Linked DNA regions of Homo sapiens: regions 1, 2 and 4 are each linked to region 3. Evidence: promoter capture Hi-C in 16 types of primary human blood cells and fetal thymus (Javierre and others, 2016). All regions are on one chromosome and are shown on one strand. The core of a region is centred on a gene start or on the middle of the fragment in contact, and the rest is flanking DNA. Distances in the headings are between cores, read along the strand shown. Region 1 overlaps KIF13B (kinesin family member 13B). Region 2 overlaps HMBOX1 (homeobox containing 1). Region 3 holds the start of INTS9 (integrator complex subunit 9). Region 4 overlaps KIF13B (kinesin family member 13B).

Region 1 (2,936 bases), core at 259-2,758, 190 kb before region 3:
CTTGCTCTGTTGCCCAGGCTGGAGTGCAGTGGTGTGATCATGGCTCATTGCAGCTTTGACCTCCTGGGCTCAAGTGATTCTCCCATCTCAGCCTCCCAAGTAGCTGAGACTACAGGTGTACACCGCCATGGCTGGCTAATTTTTAAATTTTGATCTTGTAGAGACGGGGTCTCCCTATGTCACACCGGCTGGTCTTGAATTGCTGTGCTCAAGCAATCCTCCTGCCTCAGCCTCCGGAAGTGCTGGGATTATGTGTGTGAACCACTCTGCCCAACAAGACCCTATTTTTAAAGTTTTCAGATTAGCAAACATTCTTTAAGCATCCTTAATCCTTCATGGACACTTGAAAAACTAGTAACTCTTTTTGGATGAAGTGAGCATTCTATCTTTTAAAATATATGTGTAGAATTTTCTTATATGAACGCTTAAATCAGTTTTAAGTATTATGTAGAAGTTTTATTTTTTTTTAATTTATTTTTTCTGACAAGGTCTTGCTCTGTTGCCCAGGCTGGAGTGCAGTGATGTGATCATAGCTCACTGCAGCTTCGAACTCCTGGGCGCAAGTCCTCCTGTCTCAGCCTCTCGAGTAGCTGGGACCACAGGAGTGTGCTACCATGCCTGGCTAATTAAAAACTTTTTTTTTGTAAAAATGAGGCCTTGGTATGTTGCCCAGGCTGTTATGTGGAAGTTTGTAAAGTAAACTGGCTAGATACTAAAAATCAGAAGCGATATCTTTTCCAGTAACTCTGGAAATACTAGTATTTAAGATTTTATTTATATAGTACTTAGAATAAGTTAGACTATAATACATATCTAATGTCTTATAGACCATGTGAATGGTGTCATTCACTTATAGGCAGTGATAAAATAATTTACTTGTTGATAGGAAAAATAGGCCTTTTAATTGTTTTGTGTAACTGAAATTAAATAGGAATATAAATGTTAGACCTTGAGTGCCTAGTTTTGAGGAGCACAGGGACTAGTTTTGCTCACACTGCACCCCCAGTGCCTACCACAGTCTTTAGAATGTAGTAGGTACCTGGTACATATTTGCGAATGAGTAAATAAATGAAATCTTAGGTTCTTTGTTTGAAAGAAAGTGGAATTCATCTTGGAATGACTTTGGGACTGATTCAGTTAATTTGAAACTTGTGATTTCTAGATCAGATGAAATTATTGACTGTTTAAACATGTACTTTTAGTAAGCCAACTTAGAAATATCCAGGAAGACCAGACACAAAATTCCAATGAAGTACTTTACAAATGTGTCGAGAGCTTCCAGCATACCTGGCACCACACCAGGAATTTTAATGTGCCATCTCAACAACACGACTGAGTTAGACAAGCACCATGCAATAGATACATAATGCGAGCCATGTATGCAAGTTACAATTTCCTAGTAGCCACGTTTAAGGAAGTAAAAAGAATACAGGTCAGATTAATTTTAATAACATTTGTTTAACCTAGTGTATTGAAAATACTGTCATATCAACTGTAGTATAAAAAAAGGTTGAGATATTCCCATCCTTCTTTCTGTACAAAGTCCTTGAAATCAGGTGTGTATTTTACATTTCTAGCACATTGCAATTCAGACACTAAAGTTCCGTCGGAAATACTTGATCTGCATTTAGAATTCATAAAATTTATGGTTGAAAAAGCAGACCCACATGCCGAGGCTGTTCTAAACATACTTAAAAGCATTTCAGTGTTTAAGGTTATGCTTTATTAATTAAAATAAAAAATGGACTTTCTGAGTCACATTAGCCTCATTCTCAGTGCTGGGTCACCACCAGTGGCTGGTGGCTGCCATGTCAGGGCTGCTGCCCTGTTGGGGAAATGGGGAGGGTGCACACCTGTCTCAGGTTACAGAGCCTCAGGAGTGGCAGAACTGAGCTTTCCGTTGAGAAAGCACGGTTAAATGCTCACGTGTGACTGTAAGAGATTTCACTGACAGTGATTAAGAGTAACCAAGTCATTGTATTTGTGGAATGAATCAATCAGTAGAGCGTTTGCAGGAGGGACGGATCGAGCCGCAGAAATACACCATGCAGGACCTGCCAGCGTTTCCCTGTCTGCTGCAGTGGGAAACCCTGGCAGCTGCAAGGTGGCGAGCGACATGGGACATGGTCACTTTTGTTTTTCGGAAAGCTCCCTCCAGCTGTAGTTTGGAAAGTGGATTTGAAGAGAATGGAGTTAGAAGACGCTATTCGAGTGCGGGTAGAATCCTCAGCAGGGATTATCATGTGGGTCAGAAACCCATGGTTGCCTTCTGGTGTTGAGTCCTTCGAGGCACTGCTTGGAGGGGCATGTGGCAGGCAGGGGCACAGTGGCTCGGGCGGGGGTCGGCAGCCACCAGTCCGCTTCCCTGGTGACACCGCTTAGAGAACTCATGTAGATGGGATCATCCCCTTGCAGATAGGTGTGGAAGCCCAGAGGTGATCAGGTTTTTACACAAAAGTTAGAATGCCAAGCCATGCATTTAAAATAACTATACCTGCCAGATGGACAAAAGTGCTGGTGCCGTTATGGCTCACATATTCTATCCACATCACCCTGTCAGGGTCTGGAGCCTCCAGGCGCACAGGGTGGTCACTGAAGGCCTCACATGCCGGAGGCTGGTTCACAGGCTTCAGGCCAGGGCTGGACACGTTCTCCCCGCCCGCCTCCCGGAACTCTTCGTTTTCCTCTCTTCCAGGCCCCTGGTCAGGACAACCTTAGAAAAGTGTTTCTATTGATTAGATTATTGCTGAGGCTTAATGTTTGGGTTGGTTTTTTTTTTTTTTTTTTTTTTGAGACTGGGTCTCACTCTGTCACCCAGGGTGAGTGAGTGGCATGATCATGGCTTACTGCAGCCTCGACCTTCTGGGCTCAAGCAATTCTCAGCTCCCAAGTAGTTCGGACTATAGGTGTGCACCACCACGCCCAGCTAATTTAAT
Region 2 (2,814 bases), core at 256-2,755, 130 kb before region 3:
AGAATCACTTGGAAACTTTTCAAAATATATCTCTGCCTAGGCTCTACACCCAGAGATTAAGATTCAGTCCATCAGGGGTGAAGCCCCCTGATAGTTTTAAAAGCTCCTCGGGTGATCCTAATATGCATCCAGATTTAATAATCAATGCTCTAAAACTATTAGGTAGATGGTTAATAGGGGATTTTTTAATAAGTGAATCAAGAAGGTAACACTGAATTCACTGATCAATCTTATGGTTACTAAAATTGGGGCTGTAGCGGTGGATCACACCTATAATCCCAGGACTGTAGGAGACTGAGGCAGGTGGATCTCTTGAGCCCAGGAGTTCAATACCAGCCTAGGCAACATGGCAAAACTCTGTCTCTACAAAAATATAAAAATTAGCCAGGCATGGTGGCACATGCCTGTAGTCCCAGCTACTCAGGAGGCTGAGATGGGAGAAAGACCTGAGCCCAGGAGGTTGAGGCTGTGGTGAGCTATGATCATGCCACTGAACTCCAGCCTGGGCAACAGAGCAAGACCCTGTCTCAAAAAGGGAAGGGAGCTGATAAACATGTTCTAAAATTGACTGAGGTTATGGTTGCATAATTCTGTGAATATACTAAAAAGCATTAAATTGTACACTTTAAATAGATGAATTGTATCTCATTAAGGCTGTTTTTTTTAAATCAAGATAAATTTCTATCTCTATGCAAACATACAGAAGACTACAGTATTTTATTTAAATCTTTTGATTTTATATTTCTCTTTTCCTTTGCACTGACAATCTTGGTTCCTAATAACTCTAATATGACTATTTGTTTTATCTGTACCTACATCTATATCTATACCTATCTAGCTATGTAAATAAAAATAGTACCTGAATAGCAGTATCTATAATACCAAATTTAGTAGAAACAGTGTAAGATTTTTTTGGTGTTTCTTTTTATTCTTAAGCTGTTTCCCACTTGGGAAGTATAGGAAATTACTGTGTTATAAACACATTTGAGATAATTCTTGGGTGTTTAAGGCACTATTTTGATATACAGGTTTAATTTTAGTTATTTTTTAAAGGTCACCTCCCCCCCTCCCCCCCATTTTTTCCCTGATTTTAAATTTTGATATATAATTACGTAATTTAGTTACAGGTCAAAACAAAGTATTTTCCGAGAAATCTAGCTTCTACCTCTCTTCTAAGTTGTTTCTCTTTTATTGATAACCATTTATTTTATGGTTTATTCCTCCATTTTAAAATAAGTTATAAGCAAATACATAAATGACAGCTTTGTATTATATACAGTTGATTCTGCCTTGTTTTAAACTTAATGTTATATCCTGGAGATCACTGTATACAGAGTTTTTTGTTCTTTAGCTGCATAGTACTCCACTACATGGGTTTCAACATCCAATACATGGATGTGCTATAATTTATTGACATAGTTACTACAAATAGACATTTAGGTCATCTTCTGTATTTTGAAATTAGTAAAAACAGTGCTGTTATCTTTTCATATTTTTGCCAGTATATCTTTAAGATTCTTCTTTTTCTTCTTGAGATAGGGTCTTTCTCTGTCACCCAGACTGAAGTGCAGTAGTGTGATCATAGCTCACTGCAGCTTCAAACTCCTGGGCTCAAGCAATCCTCCTGCCTCAGCCTCCCGAGTGGCTGGGACTACAGGCATGCCCTACCACGCCTTGCTAATTTTTTGTATTTTTTATAGAGATGGGGTCTCACTATGTTGCCTAGGCTAGTCTCAAACTCCTGGCCTCAAGTGGTTCTTTCACCTCAGCCCTCCCAAAAGGTTGGGATTTACAGGTGTGACCCACTGGCCCTAAGATAATTTTCTAGAAGTAGGAATGTCAAGTCAAAGGGTAAACTCATAGGTAATTTTCCTTGATATTGCCGAATTCCCTTCCATTAAGTTGTTTCATTTTGCATTTCTACAAGTAACGTATGAGAGTGTCTGTTTCTCTACAGCCCAATCAATATAAAATGTTGCCAAACTTTTGGATTTTTGTCAATGTAATAAGTGAAGAATAGTATCTCAATGTAGTTTTAATTTGAATTTCTCTTACTATCAATTAGATTGAGCATTTTTTTTTTTTTTTTTGAGACGGAGTCTCGCTCTGTCACCCAGGCTCGAGTGCAGTGGCACGATCTCGGCTCACCGCAAGCTCTGCCTCCTGGGTTCATGCCATTCTCCTGCCTCAGCCTCCCGAGTAGCTGGGACTACAGGTGCCCGCCACCACGCCCGGCTAATTTTTTTTTTTCTATTTTTCGTAGAGACAGGGTTTCACTGTGTTAGCCAGGATGCTCTCGATCTCCTGGCCTCGTGATCCGCCCGCCTCGGCCTCCCAAAGTGCTGGGATTACAGACATGAGCCACCGCGCCTGGCCGATTGAGCATATTTTCATATGTTCAAGGACCATTTGCATTTTTTCTCCTATCTTTAGCCCAATAAAGATAGAGTTATTGGTCTTTTAAGAGCTCTTTATTAGGGATAATAAAAGTTGCAATTTTTTTTTCCAATTTGTCTTTTACTTTGCTCAGCTTTTACTCCCTCCAAAGTTTTTCTTTTAATTTATGTAATCATATTTATCAATCTTTTCCTTTATTGTTTTTAGATTTTGGGTCATGGTTAGGAAATATTTTTCCCATTGCCAGGATATGAAGGGACCACTCATGTTTTCTTCTATTATTTATATGGATTCACTTCTTTGACTCATTTGAAATTTATCTTGATGTATGAAGAATGGAATAATTTTTTACTTTTTTAAAATTTCATTTTAATTTTTGAGATAGGATCTTACTATGTCGCCCAGGTTGGGGTGCAG
Region 3 (2,700 bases), core at 51-2,550:
CGAGTGGCAGAGTGTGAGCGGGCGACGGGACACAAGCGAGTTGTTGAGCCCGGCCGCCTCGCACCACGTCGCCAGCCCAAACGCCCAGCACCAGGACCTCACGCCCGCCCCTCAGCCCAGGCCCAGAGCGAGCGAGGACTCGCGCTGTCTAACTTCCCATCTACAGACACCGCTCCAAGACGAGCAGAGCACACAAGTACACGTCACACAGTTTAAACACACTTACACACCCCAAACAAACCAACACACCTGCAAATCACCTCACAGTTTCCAGAACTCCACACCGGAGACCCCACCTCCAGGATTCAAACCTTCCGCTCATCGTAGAGGAAACCAGAAGAGTTGGGGGGCAGTCGACGCCTTTCCAGGACCGGACCCCACGAACTGCCCCACCCCACAGCCCGCGTCTGGGTCACCCACTCGGAAGCCCCCTGCTTCCTCCCTCCTCTCAATCCGGCCGCTTACGAGACCCATCCCCAGCGTCCGCTCACTTCCTCCCCAAAACCCCTCCAAAAAAATTGTTTTAAGTGAAGAGAAAGAAGTGAGGAAAGAGACTTGAGGTAGTCCGGCTTCAAAACCGCTCGACTCACCTCAGAATCCTCGCTGAGTTCTCTCCGCCCGGCACAGCCCCCTCCCCAACGTCCCAGTACGAAGGGCTGAGATAGGGAGGAGGGAAGGCGGGAGGGGGAGGGGTGTCTTCCGCGTGGGGCGCCCGTCGGGAGGGGACTGGGGAGGGGTTGAGGCCGGCGCAGGAAGAGGAGAAGGGGGAGGGGAGGCCCCTATCTCCCAGTCTCCCCCTGAAAAACCTCCCTTGTCTCAATCACATCAGACTGACTGTCTTTGTCTGGCTGACAACCGCCATATTGATATCAACAGCCCCTCTCCCACCTGCTGCCGCCGGGCGTCCCTGGGAGTTGTAGTTCCTGCCTCCCCTGAGAAAAATTGCGGAGCCCGGCGCCTAGAGGGCCAAGGGAACTACAACTTCCGGCAAGCCCCGTGCCCATCCGCCTTCCCTTTGGGAGGAGGGAAAGGGGAGTCGGAGCCGTCGGGACTACACATCCCAGAACACCATGGGCCCCAGGCCCGTAAGGAAGACATGATATCATGCTGGGGTGGAGAGGGAGGATGCATTGGCGGCTGGGATGAATTTGAGCTGACGGAAGGAGGCGTTCGGAGAGGAAAGGGAGGAAAAGGAAAGGCGACCACAGTTCCCATGATGCCTGGAGGGGAGACTACATTTCCCATTATTCCCCTGGAAGGGACGTGAGGATGAAAGACTGCAAGTCCCGCGATGCTCTCGGCTGGCAGGTGGCGGAGATTGCACCGGAAGACGCTTCCTGGGTTTGAGGAGTTCAGTGACTGCTATTGAACCACCAAAAGTCCATTATGAAACTGGTGAGTCTTCGCTCCTAGGTCAGAGGGCAAAGGTGATGCTATAACCTTTTGGACCTCTTTTTTTCCTACGTTGGGCAGGGAATCGTCGCACGGGAGGGGTAGCAATTATTGAGCTGGAAAGTGGAGTGGGCTAAGGAAAGCTGCTTTTTGTTGTTGAGAAGGTTTGAATTCCCTCTCCCCCACCCCATCCCTCCCAGGAGGTCTTTTTTCACTCGTTAGTGGGTCTTTTTGTTCAGACAAGAGGTTGACTGTCACAGTCCTTCGCCCATGAACTCTGTGGGCTCTGTTAACCAGGTTTGGACGTCCTGGTTCCCACGTGAGGGTTATAATAGGCTGTTAACAATCCGTTTCCATTCGATTGGCGCTTGAGTATCCTGTCTCCCTACTGTTGTTGAGACTGGCTAGATTTAAGCAGACAGTAAAAAACATCCAGCAGAACGTAATCACTTATTAAATATCCTGTTATATAGACTCCTCACTGCCCTTGGAATTCAGGACGAGGTCAGAGTGTGGAGAAGTTGAGTCTTAAACCCTGCATGGGATTTAGATGGGCAGAGAAGTGTTATATGGTATTCCATTCTAAGACTGTAGGGACTTCATGAGCCAAGGCTGAATGAAGCGTGCTCGGTATACCTGAAGTCTTAACATCACACAGCTCAAGCACCTGGTTCATGGAGGCTCCTCAGACCTTTGATTTGAGCCATTTGACTCATTGTGCACACAAGTCTAACTAGTTTATTCCAACTCGATTCAATTAGTTAATAACATAGTGTAGAAAGGCAGGTGTGAAACACTGTTTCTCAACCTTTTAAAACCCATATTTGTGCAGCCAAGTTATTGTCAAGCTTTACTTGAGGCAGGAGAATCGCTTGAACCCGGGAGGCAGAGGTTGCAGTAAGCCAAGATCGCGCCACTGCACTCCAGCCTTGCAACAGCGCGAGACTCTGTCTCAAAAAAAAAAAAAGTTTATTTTTTACCATTTATATAATTATCTGAACATGCTTTGCCAAACCACACAACACACCTACCCTCATCTTGATAATCATTGTGCTACAGGCATATATTCTGCAAAGCCAGCTGTTTTCTGCGAAGTCAGAGAAAGTATTAAAAGTGGATTCAATTCCGAAATTGTCCCCGTATAAATCTGTTTATATAAGGGGAAGGATGCGGGTCACTAAACCTTGAGAATAGCAACTTACCCCTGGGTCAGTGTGTTACACATTTAATAATGCAGAATTAAAAGTCATAGCCGTTGCCCTACAGAAGCATGCAACCTAAGAAGAAGATAGAAAAGTAAACCAAAGT
Region 4 (2,748 bases), core at 91-2,590, 210 kb before region 3:
TCCCCAAAATAACCATTCTCCAGATCCAGGTAAGTTATCTTTTCACTTGTCAATTACTGTCAGAAATCTGAGCATCTTTCAGAAAGTTTAAATTAGAATTTCCTGCCAGGCAGCCACTGTTCTGCTAGATAATGTCCATCGAGTTGTTTCATTTCTCCTCTTAACAGGTTGAGTTCCATTGGCTCTGGAATGTTGGATTGATCTTGCATTGCTCTGATATATACCGCCTGATCATGATGTGTTAGCCGTACATTGCTGGAATCTCTTTGCACCTCTTTTTTAAGGACTTTTGTGTATGTGCTCTATAGTAAATATCTGTAATGTTTTATCTTCTCATCTTCATGTCTTTGTTAGGTTTTGTTATGATTGCATTGGCTTCATAAAACGACTTGGGAAATGTTTCTCCTCATTTTTTTTTTCTGGGAGAGTTTATGTAAGATTAGTATTACCTCTTCCTTAAATGTTTCATGAAATTCCGTAGTTACATGATCCGGGCCTGGAATCCTCTTTGTGGGGAGATTTTAAATTATGACTTGAGTTTCTTTTTTTTTTTTTTTTTGAGACAGAGTCTTGCTCTGTCACCCAGGCTGGAGTCCAGTAGTGCAATCTCGGCTCACTGCAACCTGCCCCTCCCAGGTTCAAGTGATTCTCCTGCCTCAGCCCCCCAAGTAGCTGGGATTACAGGCGCCCACCACCACGCCTGGCTAATTTTTGCATTTTTAGTAGAGATGGGGTTTCACCACGTTGGCCAGGCTGGTCTCAAACTCCTGATCTTAGGTGATCTGTCTGCCTCAGCCTCCCAAAGTGCTGGGATTACAGGCGTGAGCTACTGCACCCGGCAAGTTTATTTAGTATGGGAATATTTAGATCTTTGTGTCTCCTTTTGAGTCACCTATCATAGGTTATATTTTTTTCAAGGAGTTTCTTAGTTTATCTAGATTATTAAGTTTATTTTCATAAACATCACTTACTTTTTTTTTTTTTTTTTTTTGAGATGGAGTCTGACTCTGTCGCCCAGGCTGGAGTGCAGTGGTGCGATCTCGGCTCACTGCAACCTTTGCCTCCTGGGTTCAAGTGATTCTCCTGCTTCAGCCTCCTAAGTAGCTGGGACTGCAGGCACGTGCCACCATGCCAAGCTAATTTTTTGTATTTTTAGTAGAGACGGAGTTTCACCATGTTAGCCAGGTTGGTCTCTATCTCCTGACCTTGTGATCTGCCGGCCTTGGCCTCCCAAAGTGCTGGGATTACAGGCATGAGCCATCGCACCTGGCCACTTTACCTTATTTTTTAAATACTTATAGGATCTCTTGTGATGTTCCTTCTTTTTATTCTGATACTGATAATTTGTATTATCTGTTTTGAATACTTTTCTGACAGGTTTATCATATATATTAATCTCAGAACCAGTTTTTGGCTTTTTCTATTGCAATTGATTTTTTAAATTTTTCTGCATTTCACATATTTTGGTATGTTGTGCTTTCATTTTCATTCTATTCAGAGTATTTTAAAATTTCCCTCTGATTGCTTCTTTGATCCATGACTTATCAACTAGCATTAATTCTTTTTTATTTTTGGGGGTAATCTGTATTCCAGATTGTGTTCTATCTTGGTTAATATTCTATGTGCACTATTGTGTTTGGGGACATGATGTTCTATGTATATCTAATTAGGTCACTGTGGTTTATTGCCTTGTTCAAATCCTCTGGATCTTTGCTGATTTGGTGGAGGCCTATTCCATCAGTTCTTGAGAGGGCATTAGATATCCAAATATAATTGTGAAAATTATATGTGTTTCCCTTTATACCAGTTTTTACTTCATTCATTTAGAAGCTCTGATAATTAGCTTCTAATTATTTAAGATTGTTATATCTTCCTGATATAACACATTTAAGATTGTTATATCTTCCTGATAGAGTGGCCTATCATGAAATGTCCCTTTTGTCTCTGGGAATACTCTTACCTTGAAATCTCTCTTACCTATCATTTATATATAACTGCATCAAATTTATTTACTGTTTGCACGATGTATCTTTTTCTTGGCTTTTAAAATTTTAGCCTGTGTTTGTCTTTAAATTAAAAGCGATTGCCTTGTAGACAACATTTGGTTGGGTCCAGTTATTTCCCCCTGAATCTCATCTCGTAGTTCCTGCCCTTCAATCGGCATGCTTCACGAACCCTTCCATTGCCTCCCATTCTGGTCCGCCATATTTTTATTGGTTTTCTGCTTGGCCATTCTGTTTTTTGTTTCACTGTAACTCCTTATTTACCTTCTTTTGGGTTAATAAACAAAAATTAGTATCTCATTTTATTTCCTCTTTTTGCTTTTTTGGACACCTGTATTTGTTTGCTAAAGTCTTTGCTCAGAAACCCTACTTGGCATCCTTAACTTATCAAATCGCTTAGAGTTCATATGACGTCACCCCTCACCTCACAAATACAGGAACCATGCAACAGTGTAAGTCATTGACCTGTTCCTCTGGGCCCCTCATTTTGTACTGTTGTTTCATCTTCTACATATATAGGTATTCAAACCTCACTTTATGACGTTATTCTTTTTGCTTTAAAATAGCCACCTGTAGGCCGGGTGCGGTAGCTCCCACCTGTAGCCCTAGCACTTTGGGAGGCCTAGGTGTGGGTTAGTTGAGACCAGCCTGGGCAACATGGCAAAACCCCATCTCCACAAAAAAATACAAAAATCAGCTGAGCGTGGTGGTACACACTTGTAGTCCCTCTACTCAGGAGGCTGAA

What was found. Contacts are between HindIII fragments. The CHiCAGO score rates a contact against its expected background, and 5 or more counts as called.
Region 1: a contact is called between a fragment that was not itself captured here and the fragment with the promoter of INTS9 in region 3, in 1 of 17 cell types (total B cells). The highest score is 6.4, in total B cells.
Region 2: a fragment that was not itself captured here is called in contact with the fragment with the promoter of INTS9 in region 3 in 4 of 17 cell types (naive B cells, total B cells, endothelial precursors and 1 more); the score reaches 7.1 in naive B cells.
Region 4: a contact is called between a fragment that was not itself captured here and the fragment with the promoter of INTS9 in region 3, in 2 of 17 cell types (total B cells and naive B cells). The highest score is 8.2, in total B cells.

What each region holds. Positions count from the first base shown.
Region 1 is chr8:29,080,183-29,083,118 of GRCh38, reverse strand. All of the region lies in intron 37 of KIF13B (kinesin family member 13B), which reads left to right. Among named protein-coding and RNA genes, the nearest start is that of KIF13B, 180 kb to the left of the region's middle. RefSeq lists an enhancer at 2,431-2,936. The HindIII fragment of the contact is 7,261 bases long and covers 1-2,936 here.
Region 2 is chr8:29,021,136-29,023,949 of GRCh38, reverse strand. The region is part of intron 6 of HMBOX1 (homeobox containing 1); the gene reads right to left. The region is part of intron 2 of LOC105379346 (a long non-coding RNA gene); the gene reads left to right. Among named protein-coding and RNA genes, the nearest start is that of HMBOX1, 130 kb to the right of the region's middle. The HindIII fragment of the contact is 6,270 bases long and covers 1-2,814 here.
Region 3 is chr8:28,888,569-28,891,268 of GRCh38, reverse strand. INTS9 (integrator complex subunit 9) reads left to right here and starts at 1,300. Exons shown (of 17, transcript NM_018250.4): 1 at 1,300-1,395. The coding sequence starts at 1,387. HMBOX1 (homeobox containing 1) reads right to left here and starts at 874. Exons shown (of 10, transcript NM_001135726.3): 1 at 591-874. RefSeq lists a silencer at 632-751 and enhancers at 404-960, 1,122-1,321, 961-1,517. The HindIII fragment of the contact is 2,854 bases long and covers 1-2,242 here.
Region 4 is chr8:29,096,414-29,099,161 of GRCh38, reverse strand. KIF13B (kinesin family member 13B) reads left to right here. Exons shown (of 40, transcript NM_015254.4): 36 at 1-29. Among named protein-coding and RNA genes, the nearest start is that of KIF13B, 170 kb to the left of the region's middle. The HindIII fragment of the contact is 3,073 bases long and covers 1-2,748 here.